2 separate regions of the Homo sapiens genome follow, and region 1 is linked to region 2. The links are contacts of gene promoters, found by promoter capture Hi-C in blood cells and fetal thymus (Javierre and others, 2016). All regions are on one chromosome and are shown on one strand. The core of a region is centred on a gene start or on the middle of the fragment in contact, and the rest is flanking DNA. Distances in the headings are between cores, read along the strand shown.

What was found. Contacts are between HindIII fragments. The CHiCAGO score rates a contact against its expected background, and 5 or more counts as called.
Region 1: a contact is called between the fragment with the promoter of GFAP here and the fragment with the promoter of ARHGAP27 in region 2, in 1 of 17 cell types (neutrophils). The highest score is 5.2, in neutrophils.

Annotation. Positions count from the first base shown.
Region 1 is chr17:44,914,250-44,920,264 of GRCh38, forward strand. It overlaps GFAP (glial fibrillary acidic protein), which reads right to left and starts at 1,251. Exons shown (of 9, transcript NM_002055.5): 1 at 777-1,251. The coding sequence starts at 1,237. It overlaps LOC105371793 (a long non-coding RNA gene), which reads left to right and starts at 4,470. Exons shown (of 2, transcript XR_934781.3): 1 at 4,470-5,569. RefSeq lists an enhancer at 5,784-6,015. The HindIII fragment of the contact is 16,653 bases long and covers 1-4,103 here.
Region 2 is chr17:45,428,312-45,434,856 of GRCh38, forward strand. It overlaps ARHGAP27 (Rho GTPase activating protein 27), which reads right to left and starts at 4,559. Exons shown (of 20, transcript NM_001282290.2): 1 at 4,441-4,559; 2 at 3,905-4,038; 3 at 3,310-3,441; 4 at 1,312-1,986. The coding sequence starts at 1,968. It overlaps LOC124904016 (a long non-coding RNA gene), which reads left to right and starts at 252. Exons shown (of 2, transcript XR_007065825.1): 1 at 252-337; 2 at 618-1,038. It also overlaps a transcript of PLEKHM1 not described here. RefSeq lists enhancers at 1,343-1,843, 1,844-2,344. The HindIII fragment of the contact is 25,899 bases long and covers 1-6,545 here.

The sequences.
Region 1 (6,015 bases), core at 1-2,500, 520 kb before region 2:
CTGGAGGATGAGCAGATGTGGGCTTTTGCCTTAACTCATTACTAAGGTGCCTTATCAGGGTTGGTGCACCTGCTTCTGCTCACACAGGCGCATCCACAAGCATACACTCACTGTTGCACACACACACACACACACGCACATGTCCTCCTGCACTTGAAGGCACACATGCATGTCCTGTCAGCTCAGTGAAGCGCCATGCCCCTGGGGATTCCTCTGATCCCAGGTAACCACCTTTTGAAATGAATTTTATTATGACCACCGCTTCACAGCTGTGCAAGTCAAAGTAACTTGATGGGGGTCACAAGCTGGTGGCAGGCAGTCACCTGTGCTTTGCGCCCAGACCTGCCTGCTCTTTCCCTCACTTTCTTCACCCCAGAATCCAATCTCCCTCATGGACATCAACCTTCTCCGCTTCCAACTCCTCCTTTATATGGACACAGGCTCAGAATAGGTGAGCTCGCTGCCCACAGTCACAAAGCCCAGCCATGAATGAAACACAGGGGCCCCGCTGCTCCTGCACTGCTTTCCCCAGTAGGGAGGTGCTGAGGGGACCCTGGACTCCTGGCAGAAGGCATGCGGGCATCAGATCCCCGGGGCCCTGGGCCTGTTTCTGGTCCCTCCCATCATGTTGGGGGGCAAGGATAGTGCCCCATCAAGAGGTAGGGAGGCCCAGGGAGCAGGGAGGTTCGGCCCCTCCCTGAGACTTCTCGGGCACTCCTTCTTGGGGATTCAGCCCCTTCTGCTCACAAGGCCCCCCTTCCCCATCCCCTCCTCACTTCTGCCTCACAGTGGCCAGGTCCTGTGCCAGATTGTCCCTCTCAACCTCCAGCCGGGCGCTGTTGGCGGTGAGTTGATCGAGCCGCAGCCGCAGCTCTCGCAGCTCAGCCTGGTAGACGTCTGCCAGCTTGGTGGGCTCCTTGGCCCGCAGCTGGTTCAGCTCAGCAGCCAGCGCCTTGTTTTGCTGTTCCAGGAAGCGAACCTTCTCGATGTAGCTGGCAAAGCGGTCATTGAGCTCCATCATCTCTGCCCGCTCACTGGCCCGGGTCTCCTTGAAGCCAGCATTGAGTGCCCCAGCCAGGGAGAAATCCACCCGGGTCGGGAGTGGAGGGGGCATTCGAGCCAGGGAGAGGCGGGTGCCAGGACCCAGACGGCGGCCAGGAGCCAGGCCCCCCACCATCATCTCCCCTGAGGAGACGTAGGAGCGGCGAGCAGCGGAGGTGATGCGTCTCCTCTCCATCCTGCTCTGGCTCTGCTCGCTCCTGGGATGCGAGGGCTTTATGAAGGAGTGGGCTAGACTGGCGATGCCCGGGTGCCCCTGGCAACACCCCCTGGCATAGCCTGAGGGGGTGGGGTTGGGCCGCAGCCCAGCTATGGGGAGAGCTCCCCTCACCCCACTGAGGTCACTGTGCCCAGAGGCAGAGCTTCCTGGGCACGCCAACTCCTGCATGAGGCAGGTGGTACCTGGAGCCAGACCATGGGTCTGGGGCCCTGACCGCTGAAGCAAGAGGACCCTCTCTCTAGGAAGGTGGGTCAAGAAAGGGTTGGTTGGACCATGATGAATACTTACAATTATTATGCATCAATTAAAAAGGAAGGAAAGGGCTGAGTGGGGTGGCTCATGCTTGTAATCCCAGCACTTTGGGAGGCTGAGGCTGGAGGATTGCTTGAGCCCAGTAGGTTGAGGCTGCAGTGAGCTGTGTTTGCGCCACTCCAGCCTGGGCAACAGAGAGAGACCTTGTCTCACAAAAAAAAAAAAAAAAAAGGGAAGGAAGGGCTGTACCAGATGACCTCTGACCTGCTTTCCAACTTTTTGATTTCATAACCCAGGCATTATCTCACTCAGCTGTAAGTGCCTGCAAGGTGCTGGGAATTTGGCGAAGAATGAACCTGTTCTGTACCCTCAAGGGCCACCTCATTTCCTACTAGGCCTCATTCCCAGCAGACTCCTGGAGTCCTTCCCTTGAACACAGATGTCCCACATTCCTGCTCTCTGCCCATTCATTCCCTGGAGTTCTGGGGCTGGGGGCTGGGATTGGACACCAGCCCTTTGTCTAAGGGTCAATCATGGCCTCTATGTGGCAGTGGAGGTCCTGATAGGGCAAGAGGGGGCCGGCACTCTCTTGCCTTATCAGGACTTTAGCCCCTGGATCTGTCCCTCCAGGTCACCCCTTCCTTGTCTGGCCTCCCTGTGCCTCTCTCCCAGAGACCAGGCCTTGACAGCTCCACAAAGCCGTTACACATGAGCTGGCTGTGCTGGCTCGTCTTTATTCCTGCAGCGCCCCGTTTCCCTGGCCACCCCTCCGTCTCCCACTGGAGATTTATTTCCTCGAGTTCCCACACATCAGCCTGGAGAGATGGGAAGAACCTCTGGGGATGGATGGGTTTGGAAACGCTGGAGCCACTGGGCCCAACTAGGAGCCTGAGACCTGGGCCCTGTTGTCCCTGGAGACTTCAGGTCCATCTACGCCCTCCACTCTGGTCCCACAGGGTCAGAACCCTGCCCAGTCCCCTCACCCATTTGTGTCCTTGGACTTCTGGGAAGCAGACAGCCCTCCTCTCCCCCCCTGCCACCCACTGTCCATGCCTGGGCATCCCCTGATCCCCTTTCCTGGGCACAGGCTGAATAGAGCCTTGTTCTCCACCGCCGGTGGCGCCACACAGCAAGGGCAGCCCCTAGGGGGCTGTGCTGCTTTTATCCCAAGATGCCAGGCTGTCAGGCTGGGGTGCAATGCAAGCCCCCTGCTCAATGGGCTTCTCGGAAGGCATTTGAGGGGGGCTGGGGTGCGGCGGGAAGCAGGCACTGTGCCCACCCCGAACATTGTGTCTGTGCCAAGGTGAGTCATTCACTGGGCATGAAGAGGAGGCCCTGGGGGGCGGCCAGCCCAATGCTGCCAGGTCTGCTTGCAGACAAGGCCTGGCTGTCTGCCTCCTCCCCAGCTCACAGAGCCAGCTCAGGCCCCCGAGCCTCTGTCAGAGCAGCGTCCCCTACTCCACACCAGGATATGTTCTTTTTTTTTTTTTTTTTTTTTTTGTCTTTTGAGACAGGGTCTCACTGTTGCCCAGGCTGGAGTGCAGTGGCGCAACCACGACTCACTGCAGCCTCAACCTCCCAGCCTTAAGTGATCCCCTCACCTCAGCCTCCTGAATAGCTGGGACTACAGGTGTGTGTCACCACACGTGGCTGATTTTTTAACTTTTTTTGTAGAGATAGGGTCTTGCCATGTTGCCCAGGCTGGTCTAGAACTTCTGGGCTCAAGTGATCCTTCCACATCAGCCTCCCAAAGTGCTGGAATTACAGTTGTGCGCCACTGCGCCCAGCCCAGGGTATGCTCTGCATTTGGACATGTGATGGACAGACTGCCTCCTGAGGTCTCCCTCTGTGAGTCCCAGCACAGAGAGGGAGGTGGGAGCTCCTTAGGCTCTAGTCACATCTGACCTGGGCGTAAGCAGTGACATAGGAAAGAGCATCTTGAAGACGGGGTGAGCGCCCAGTGACCTTTGATCCTGCTATGAACTGGGGACCTGGGGAAGGACAGGAGGCTTTAAAGGAAGAGCAAGGCTGGGCATAGTGGCTCATGCCTGTAATCCGAGCACTTTGGGAGGCTGAGGTGGGCGGATCGCTTGAGTCCAGGAGTTCGAGACCAGCCTGGGCAATGTGGTGAAATTTTGTCTGTACAAAAAATACAAAAAAATTAGCCAGGTATGGTGGTGCACTACTGTGATCCCAGCTATTCGGGAGGCTGAGGTGGGAGGATCACCTGAGCCCAGGAGGTGGAGACTGCAGTAAGCCAATGTCGCATCACTGCACCCCAGCCTGGGTGACAGAGACTCTGTCTCAATAAATAAAAAAATAAAATAAAATAAACAAAATAGAAAAGGAAGACTGGGGATAAGCTCTTGTCTGAACTCTGTCTCATCTCTGTGGCTAGGAGTGGCCCGCCTTTCCAGGCTGCCCAGCAAGTCACAGCATGTAGCCTTCCCTTTTGGTTCAAGGGAAGTCTAGTTAAAATAAGGGCAAAGCTGTCCTAGAGAGAAAAGATGTGATGAGCAGGAGGTGCCTGTCATTGAAGCTCAGTGAACTGTCCCTGTGTATGTGAGACACAAGCTTGTTTCAGCATCAGCAGTTGGAGTCCCCCAGCTTTTGCCATCAGCCACCTCCGTGGACCCCTGTCATAGGCCCAGGTGCATCCTCCACCCCTTCTCAACCCTCAGACCTTTCCTCACACTCAACCCTTAACTATCTTGTTTTTGTTTTTTGAGACAGGGTCTTGCTCTGTTGCCCAGGCTAGAGTGAAGTGGTGCTATCACAGCTCACTACAGCCTCAATCTCCCTGGCTCAAGCGATCCACCCACCTCAGCCTCTCTAGTAGCTGGGACCACAGAGATACACCACCATGCCCAGCTCATTTTTGTATTTTACTAGAGACAAGGTTTCGCCATGTTGCCCAGGCTGGTCTCGAACTGTTGGGCTCAAGTGACCCTCCCACCTCTTCCTCCCAAAGTGCTGGGATTACAGGCATGACCTATACAACCGGTACATATAGATCACGCCTGGCCAACCCTTAACTATCTAAAGGTGTCTGCACAGAGAACCAAAGATACAGACAGATTTGGTCGTGGTTGTGTTCCAAACTTTCATTATCTTTTTAATTAAATATTCATTGTAGAAAGGTCAGAAACTATAGATAAGCAATACAAAAAAATGTAATTAGCCATCATTTTGCCACCTGGAGATAAACACTACCAGATTTTTTCCACACATATATAATCATTTTTTTCAAAATGGGCTCATGCCGTACAAATTATTTTGTAATTTGCTTTTCTCACTCAACAATATGTTGTGAACATCTTTCCACATCAATAAATATTTGTCTGCATCATCATTTAACAGCTGCATGATTTTCCACTATATGCATTCATGTACCAAGCCCTAGTGGTGGACAGTATGACAGTATGTTCTCTCTCTCTCTTTTTTTTTTTTTAGAGACAAAGTCTCACTTTGCCACCCAGGGCCAGAGTGCAGTGGCACCATCATAGCCCACTGCAGCCTCAGACTTCTGAGCTCAAGCAATCCTCCTGCCACAGCCTGCCAAGGAGCTGGGACTACAGGCACATGACAGTGTGCCCAGATAATTTTTTTTTTCAGAGACCAAGTCTTGTTATGTTGCCCAGGCTGGTCTTGAACTCCTGGCCTCAAGTGATCCTCTGGCCTCAGCCTCCCAAAGTGCTAGGATTACAGATGTGAGCCGCTGTGACTGTCCTCTCTCTGTTCTAAACCACACTCTGATTTGCATCTGCTGCAGGCAGACACAGCAAACAGAGAAGGGTAGGCCCTCAGCCCGTCCAGCCTCCACCCAAACCCCCCATCCTCCTAGCCTGGCTCAGGCCCCATTCTCTGGGGTGCCTCCTCTCCTGCTTCCCCAAATGGAAGGCCCCAACTTCTAAAGCCTCTGGCCAAACCCTAGACTGCCTTCTAGACTGCACAGCAGGATAATACCAGCCATGGAGAGAGAAGTCTGGATGCCCTTTCAAGGAGCCTACAGCCAAGCTGTGCCTGCTTCAAGCTGAGGTGAGGACAAGATGACCTTCCTGAGCCCCTCCCTCACATCAGAATCTGCTAGATGACCTTCTGCTTACAGGGTAAAGCCCAGATGCCTCCTGGGACAGACCAGCCCCACATGTGGCATCAACCCACACACAGGGTGCCTGGTGTTTGCCAAATAGGCCAGCCTCTAATTCAAACGGCAGTTTTGCCACATGACTGCTGCCCGCTGGTTCTGCTTGGGCCCTTGGCCCTGGCCCAGTGCCTGGCACAGCGTGGTGGTCAGCAAGCTGGGTGAAGAGAACACAGTCTCTCTGGCTGAGCCTTGGTGACCAGCAAGTCTGTTCATCCATGGCCTGTCCCGAGGAAGGGAACTGAGCCTGGTGGCCACTAGATGGTGGTGCTCAGCTGGTCAGGTGTGAGCCGCCACAGCCACCGCAGTTTAGAGGCAGGGAGAAAGCTGTAGGCGGAGT
Region 2 (6,545 bases), core at 3,309-5,808:
AGCCTGGGTGGACCCCCTGCTGCTGTCAAGCGCTTCGAAGCCTTACCTCGTTTAAGGCTCACAACCCTAATCCTTAAGTATTGTGCTTACACCAGAGGACGCTGGGCCTGGGGGAACGTCCTCGCGTGTAAGTTAAGTGGCTGTCAGCAGCTGGCAGGTGACCCAGCAGAATCCAGTTCCCCTTTCCCTAGTCTCAAAACCTGAGCTCTGCATTGTAACGAGTCGGGCGGAGGGAACACCCAGCAGCGGGCCTACGGAGGCGTGTCTCCTTCGTCTGGGCATCCCGGACTCAGTCCTGGCACATAGTGGGCATCAGTGTTCATGGTAATGACATCAGGTACAGCGAAAGAAATCAGAGGCTCCCGAGGATCAGAGGTCATCTGTCCAACCCCTCCCTTTGGGCTAAAGAACAAACCGAGACCCTAAGAGAGGAAAAGAACTGCCCCTAGATCATCACACGGCCGGTGGCAGATGGCAGAACGGTTCTGAGCATCTTTTTTTCCCCTCGGGCTGCCCCTCTCTGAAAAGTTCCTAAAGTTCAAAATGTCAGGGTCGCCTAGAGTGTTCTGAGGATGTAAGACCTGTTTTTAAAACGTGCTCTATTTTCGATTTCCCAGATGAACACAACTGGACTCTGAAGAGGGGGAAAAAAACAACCTCACTTAACCGGACGTCTTTCTGAAACAAACCCATCAAGAGTTCTTTAAAAAAAGGAACTGAAATGCTGGAAGCACCCTCAAAGGGAAGCAGACGCCTGACTTTCACATCCACCCTCTCATCTGACCCCAGACTCCTGGGAGACGGGCAAGTCGGTTGGGCCGGGGCAGGCCCGCAATCCCCCGTTCCGTGCCCAGATGCGCTTCGGAATACAGAACAGCTGGGACTTGGAAAGATAATATGGGGCACACACCTGCAGTAGGTTATATAACCTCCCAGCAGGGCTTGGGGCAGCAGCCGACCATCGAGCTCATTTGCATTTCTGCAGCGAAACATGAATATTCACACAAGTGCGATAAATAAAGACCATCAGCAGCCTCACATCAGTTCAAGCGCAATTTTGCCACCAATTGGATTACGAAAAGCCTCTGGGCTTCCAGGGAGCTTTGGAGCTTGGGAATTGCTGATGAGGGACTGCGGGCGTGCACCCCTCACGTTTCGCGGTTGGGGAGAGGGAGCTCATCCGAAGTCTTCGGACAGAGGTGGGCGTCGTGCCCGACGCTGAGCGGAGCGGGTCTCCTTGCGCCCCGGCTCCGTGCGGGCGCGGTCCCTAGCGCGCCACCCGCCTCCGCGCCCCAGCGCCCGGGGAGGTACCTGCTCTGCGCTCTCCTCCGGCGGCGGGACGTGCAAGTCCTGGATGACCTCGTAGACGTTCTCTGAGTCGCTGCGCGCCAGAGGCCGCGGGCACACCCAGGAGCCCGCCACGCTGCAGGCCTTGAAGCTGCCGCTGCTTCCTAGGAGGCCGGCGGGAGGCGAGACGGCGGCGCAGGCCAGGTCGTTCAGGGACTGCGCGGGCCGCACGGGCGCCGCGGGCCGCAGGTACAGGCAGGCTGGCAGGCCGGGCGCCAGGCTGCTGCGCTGGGTCGCGGCGCCGCGTTGCGCAGGGCCGCACAGGGAGCTGGCTCGGCCTCCGGACTCCTCGGGGGCGCCGTCGGGGCCCGCGGTCGCCGCCGCGCTCACAAACCGGTAGTCGTAGGCGAGCGGCTCAGGGGCCGCGGGGCTCGGGTGGGGACCTGGCGGCGCGGCGGCGGCAGGGTTGCCCAGCGCGGGCAGCTCGCGCACGTACTGCGCAGGCAGGTAGAAGGGGCGGCCGCCGGGCTCACGCCGCACGTGCCACCAGTGCTCGGTGCTGCGCCGCAGCAGCCGGTAGCGCTCATTCGGCCGGATGGCCACGCGGCGCCCGTCCTTGCCGGTGTACTCGAAGGGGTGCTCCACCAGCACGTACACGTCCCCCACCACGTCCGCCGCCATCGCAGCCGCGGCGTTTTCCTGCGGGCAACAAGAAGGAGGGCCGCGGAGGTCAAGACCACCGAGCCTGGAATAGCCCCGCACTCGGGGACAGACTTGGGTTCGAGTCCCGATCCTGCACTCGCCGTTCGCCTTCGGGCCTCAGTTTTCCCATCTCTAAAATGGGAACTTGCATAAAATCACATGTAAGGCTTCCATTCTTACACTCAGTGCTGGAATTAGGACAGCCCTTCGTTCTGTGGGGTTGATTCTAAGATTTGACCCTTGCTTCAGTCCTGCGGTGGGGAGATTGTGGGTAGTCTTGGTCCAAATCGACTGCGAGGGAAGCCTTGGCTTTAAAACGAGGGGTGATTGCCCGCTCTAAGGTCGACACCACGCTTGCTTAATAGTTGACTGCGCCTTAGTTTTCCGTCAGTCAAGTAGGAAGAACACCCCATTTACTGCCGCTCCCCGGCTCTGTCCCGCCTGGAAGCCTCCCGCCCGCAGAGAATCAGCAGAGGGTCTCGTAGCACTGCCTCCCTCCAGCAGCTTGCGCCCCGACCCCCTGGTCAGAGTTGGAATGTGGGCTCTGTAGGGGGCCGAGCGAACAGCTCTACCTGGGGGCTGTCGCTGCCCCCCTTAGTCCGAGGGCCTTGCTGTAGAGGCCTCCGCTGCCAATGCAGGGGAACCGGTTCTCTCGGTTTCTCTTTCCTTCCCCAGCTGCATCACCGCAGACGTGAGCCCGAGCCCGGCCCGCCCAGCCCGGCCCGCACCGCCCCCTGCTCTCCAGCTCTCACGCCGCCCCCCGAGAAAGGCCCTGCCCCTGTGGCCTGTCCACCTGCCCTGTGACCCCTACAGTGTCCCCACGAGTGGCTCCTGGAGAATGCACTCTGAGACAGTGACTATAAGTGCGGAGTCCCAGAGCAGGGCCACCCAAAGCTCTCCGGAGTGGTGGTCATAAGCCCCGCTCCCGCCCGGGCTTCGGGGTGTCAGGGATGGGGGAGAGCCTAACTAAATCTGTCTGCGCCCCTCCACCAAAGCCATGAGTCGGTTTTCTCCGGAAGTGCATGGCCCCTCCAAACTCCCACACTGACCACACCTCTTCCTGCCCCCTAAGGTGGCCCGGACCCGGGGCCAGGAGACCGCCGCTTGCCGAGGCAGAGGAGCAGGTTCCAACGGGGGCCCCAGCAGGGCTCCTCCGCCACTTTGTCAAGCGTTCCTCGACGAGGAAAGGGTGTAAACTGAGTCACTAAGCACGCTGGGCCCCGGAGGCGGGGTCATCGAGCTGCCCGGTGCTGAACCAACAAACCCCAAGCAGGACACTCCCCCGGCGCCCCCTCCCCTTGGACCCCGCAGCGCACTCACGTCGGCTGGGCGGGCCTCAGGGAGCCCATGGGCTGGGTGGGCGGAGCCGGCGGTGGCTGCAGGTTAGGCCCCTACCATCGCCCTGGGCGGGGTTTCCAGGGGCGAGGCCGGAGAGGCTGCGCGGAACAGGAGCTGGCAAGCAGAGCGAAGAGGGACAGGGACGCTCAGGAGTGCTGTCACCGATACCCAAAGCAGCCGTGTCTGGGTGGGGCGAGGAGGAGCCTGAATGCCTCTGCTGGGGACCTTGGGGGGCATTGGGACGAGGCCCAGAGCAGAAGGCCGGCACCTGGAGCCGGGACTGCTGCGTCTGAAGGGGCACTGGCAGGTCGCGAGCGGAGCCCAAGGAGGATGGGACCGCCCCCGCTCCGCCTTCCCCCTCTATTCCCCGCCCCCCCACCCCCCACCCCCCGGGATTTGCTGTCCGGGAGTGCCTGCGTCCCTCCTGTGCGCGGCTCTGGGAATGCCGGGCTGGGGCTGGTTGTCTCGTGCGGGCGTTCCTGTTCCCGGGGAGGTCATTTGCACCCTGAATCACCCACTGCGAGCCCTTCCAACCGGATTGCAAATCCGCCCGCTCCGGGCCCACCTCTTCCCTCACCAGGGCCTTTCCCGGAGCAGCCCGGCCGGGCCTGGAAAAACTCCGAGCGGGATTCCCAGCGCAGGGACGCCCACCGGAGCTCGATGTCTCGGGCTGGATAAGAAGGGGACCGGACCTCGGTTCCTTCCCCGACCCTGGGGAAACGCAGAGAAGGGGAGGGATTGGGGAAGCCGGGAGGATCCCTGGAGCGCGACAGCGCACCAGTCGCCAGGAGGTCCCCTGCGTCCACTGCCCAGGCGACTCAAGCTACAGGGGCGTCAACGCCTGGGTCGGCGCTGGGGGCCTGGGCCTGCTTCCCTCCAGCCCCCAGATGGAGGGCAGCCCTTCGCCTACCTTCTCCTCCCCGTGGGATGCGGCCCGCGCAGCTCCCGCCCCAGCGCGGAGACAAGGGGAGCAGGCGCGCGGAGCTCCCGGGTGCGGACCCGCCACCTGCCGCACCCTTCCCTTCCCAACCCTGCCCTTTCCCCACCCCCACCCCACTTCCCACCCCCAACCCCCGCTCGGCGCCCCACTCCCGACCCTGCCTGCCCGGGCACCTCGGGGCGTCCGCTCGCCGGCTTCGCCTCCACTTGCCCCGGCAGGCGCGCGTGGGCTCGGCGTCCCGCGCTCCCTCCTCGACTGTGCGGCTCCCGCGCTGCCGGGTTTCCTGTTCAACAATATAACCAGGGAGGCACCGGCGGAGAGCGCCGGGCAGAACTTCCTCCCGGACTGGGGCTGGGCTGCGGTTGCGAGAGACAATCCCCGGTGTCCTGGCTTCCTGTCCCCTCTGGGCCGGGCCAGCGCCTGAGGAGCGAAGACGCCACCCCCTCCCCTGCCTTTCCCGGGATCCTGGGCCGCACCTGGCTGTCTCCAGGGAGAAAGAGGCTGCGGGGCTGAGATGGTGGGACTGGGGAGGGCGGGAGCCTCCCCCGCAGGTTCGCCTGGCCAGATTGCCCTCCCACCATCCCCCACCCCCTCTTGATCCTTGTGGGGAAGGAGGGCCACCCTCCAATCCGTCCACAGGGTAAGCTCAGAACAACCTCCAGGAGTCCAGCCCCAGGGCCCTCCGCCTTGGGGGTCTTCTGTTGGAGAATTTTCTGCCTCTCTGGACAAGCAGCCTCGCCCTGATCTGAGCCTGCACTCACTCCAGACATTACAAGCCACAGCCCCAGCACACCCCCTGCCCTCAGGGGCCCCAAGGAACAGTTGTGCCTGTGGACCTGGCTGTGTGTGCCAAGAGCTGGCTGATTCAGGCCAGTGTTCTGGGAGGAAGAAGGGCCCGCATCCCAGGCCATGGCCTCTCTTGACACCACCTCCTGGGGACCCAGGGTTGGGTGGGAAGCTGAATCTGGCCACCCAGATTCAGAGGAACTCCCTTACCTCTATATCTTTGTAAGATATAGTAAGTAAGGAACTCCCTTACCTCTATATCTTTGTAAGATATAGTAAGTAAGGAACTCCCTTACCTCTATATCTTTGCCTCTGCTAGGCATTGCCCACCTGTGAGTCCACACTTCCTCTGAGAATCTGTGTGTCTGAGCCTTGGTGGCACCTTGGGACCCTCCAGGGTGGGCACACAGCAGAACTCAGCACTGGTCTTTGGTGCCCGACATGCTTAGAAAATAGTGGCTGGTGCCGGGCACGGTGGCTCACGCCTATAATCCCAGCACTTTGGGAGGCCGAGGCGGGCGGATCATGAGGTCAGGAGATTGAGAAACCCTGGCTAACACGGTGAAACCCCGGCTAACACGGTGAAACCCCGTCTCTACTAAAAATATAAAACATTAGCCGGGCGTGGTGGCGGGAGCCTGTAGTCCCAGCTACTCCGGAGGCTGAGGCAGGAGAATGGTGTGAACCTGGGAGGCGGAGACTGCCGTGAGCCATGATCGTGCCACTGCACTTCAGCCTGGGCGACAGAGCAAGACTCCGTCTCAAAAAACAACAACCAAAAAAGAAAAAAAGAAAATCGTGGCTGGAGGAATCTTCTCTCCCTCCCTACCTTTTAGGTCCCTCTCCACCTGCAGCACAGCCAGGCAGTGGCTGGCAGTGGTGATGGTCTTTGCGTGGGGTCAGGCAGGTATGATGCCCCACTCTGCTGCTTGGCGGCTGGTAGGCCTTGGGAGTTCTGCCTTATCTCTGCAGCTCAGATTTCTTTCCTGTCAATGGGATAGTAACACCCACTTCACTGGATTATTGGGAAGATTAAATGAGGTCCACTAAGCAGTGCTTACCACATGCCCAGCGCACACAATATATCAGCTATTTTTTTTAAGACAGAGTCTCACTCTGTCTCCCAGGCCGAAGTGCAGCGGCACGATCTTGGCTCACTGCAACCTCCGCCTCCGGGTTCAAGTGGTTCTCCTGCCTCAGCTTCCTGAGTAGCTGGGATTACAGGCACCCGCCATCATGCCCAGTTAATTTTTGTATTTTTGTAGAGACGGGGTTTCACCATGTTGGCCAGGCTGGTCTTGAACTTCTGACCTCAGATGATCCAACCTCCTCGGCCTCCCAAAATGCTGGGATTACAGGTGTGAGCCACCATGCCGGGGTACATCAGCTATTATGACTACTTACATTATATGATAAGCTCTTGGGGGTTGGATTGGAATCTCCAAACCACCTGTCCTCCTTCAGAGAGAAGAGGAAAAGGGGAAGTCTCAGC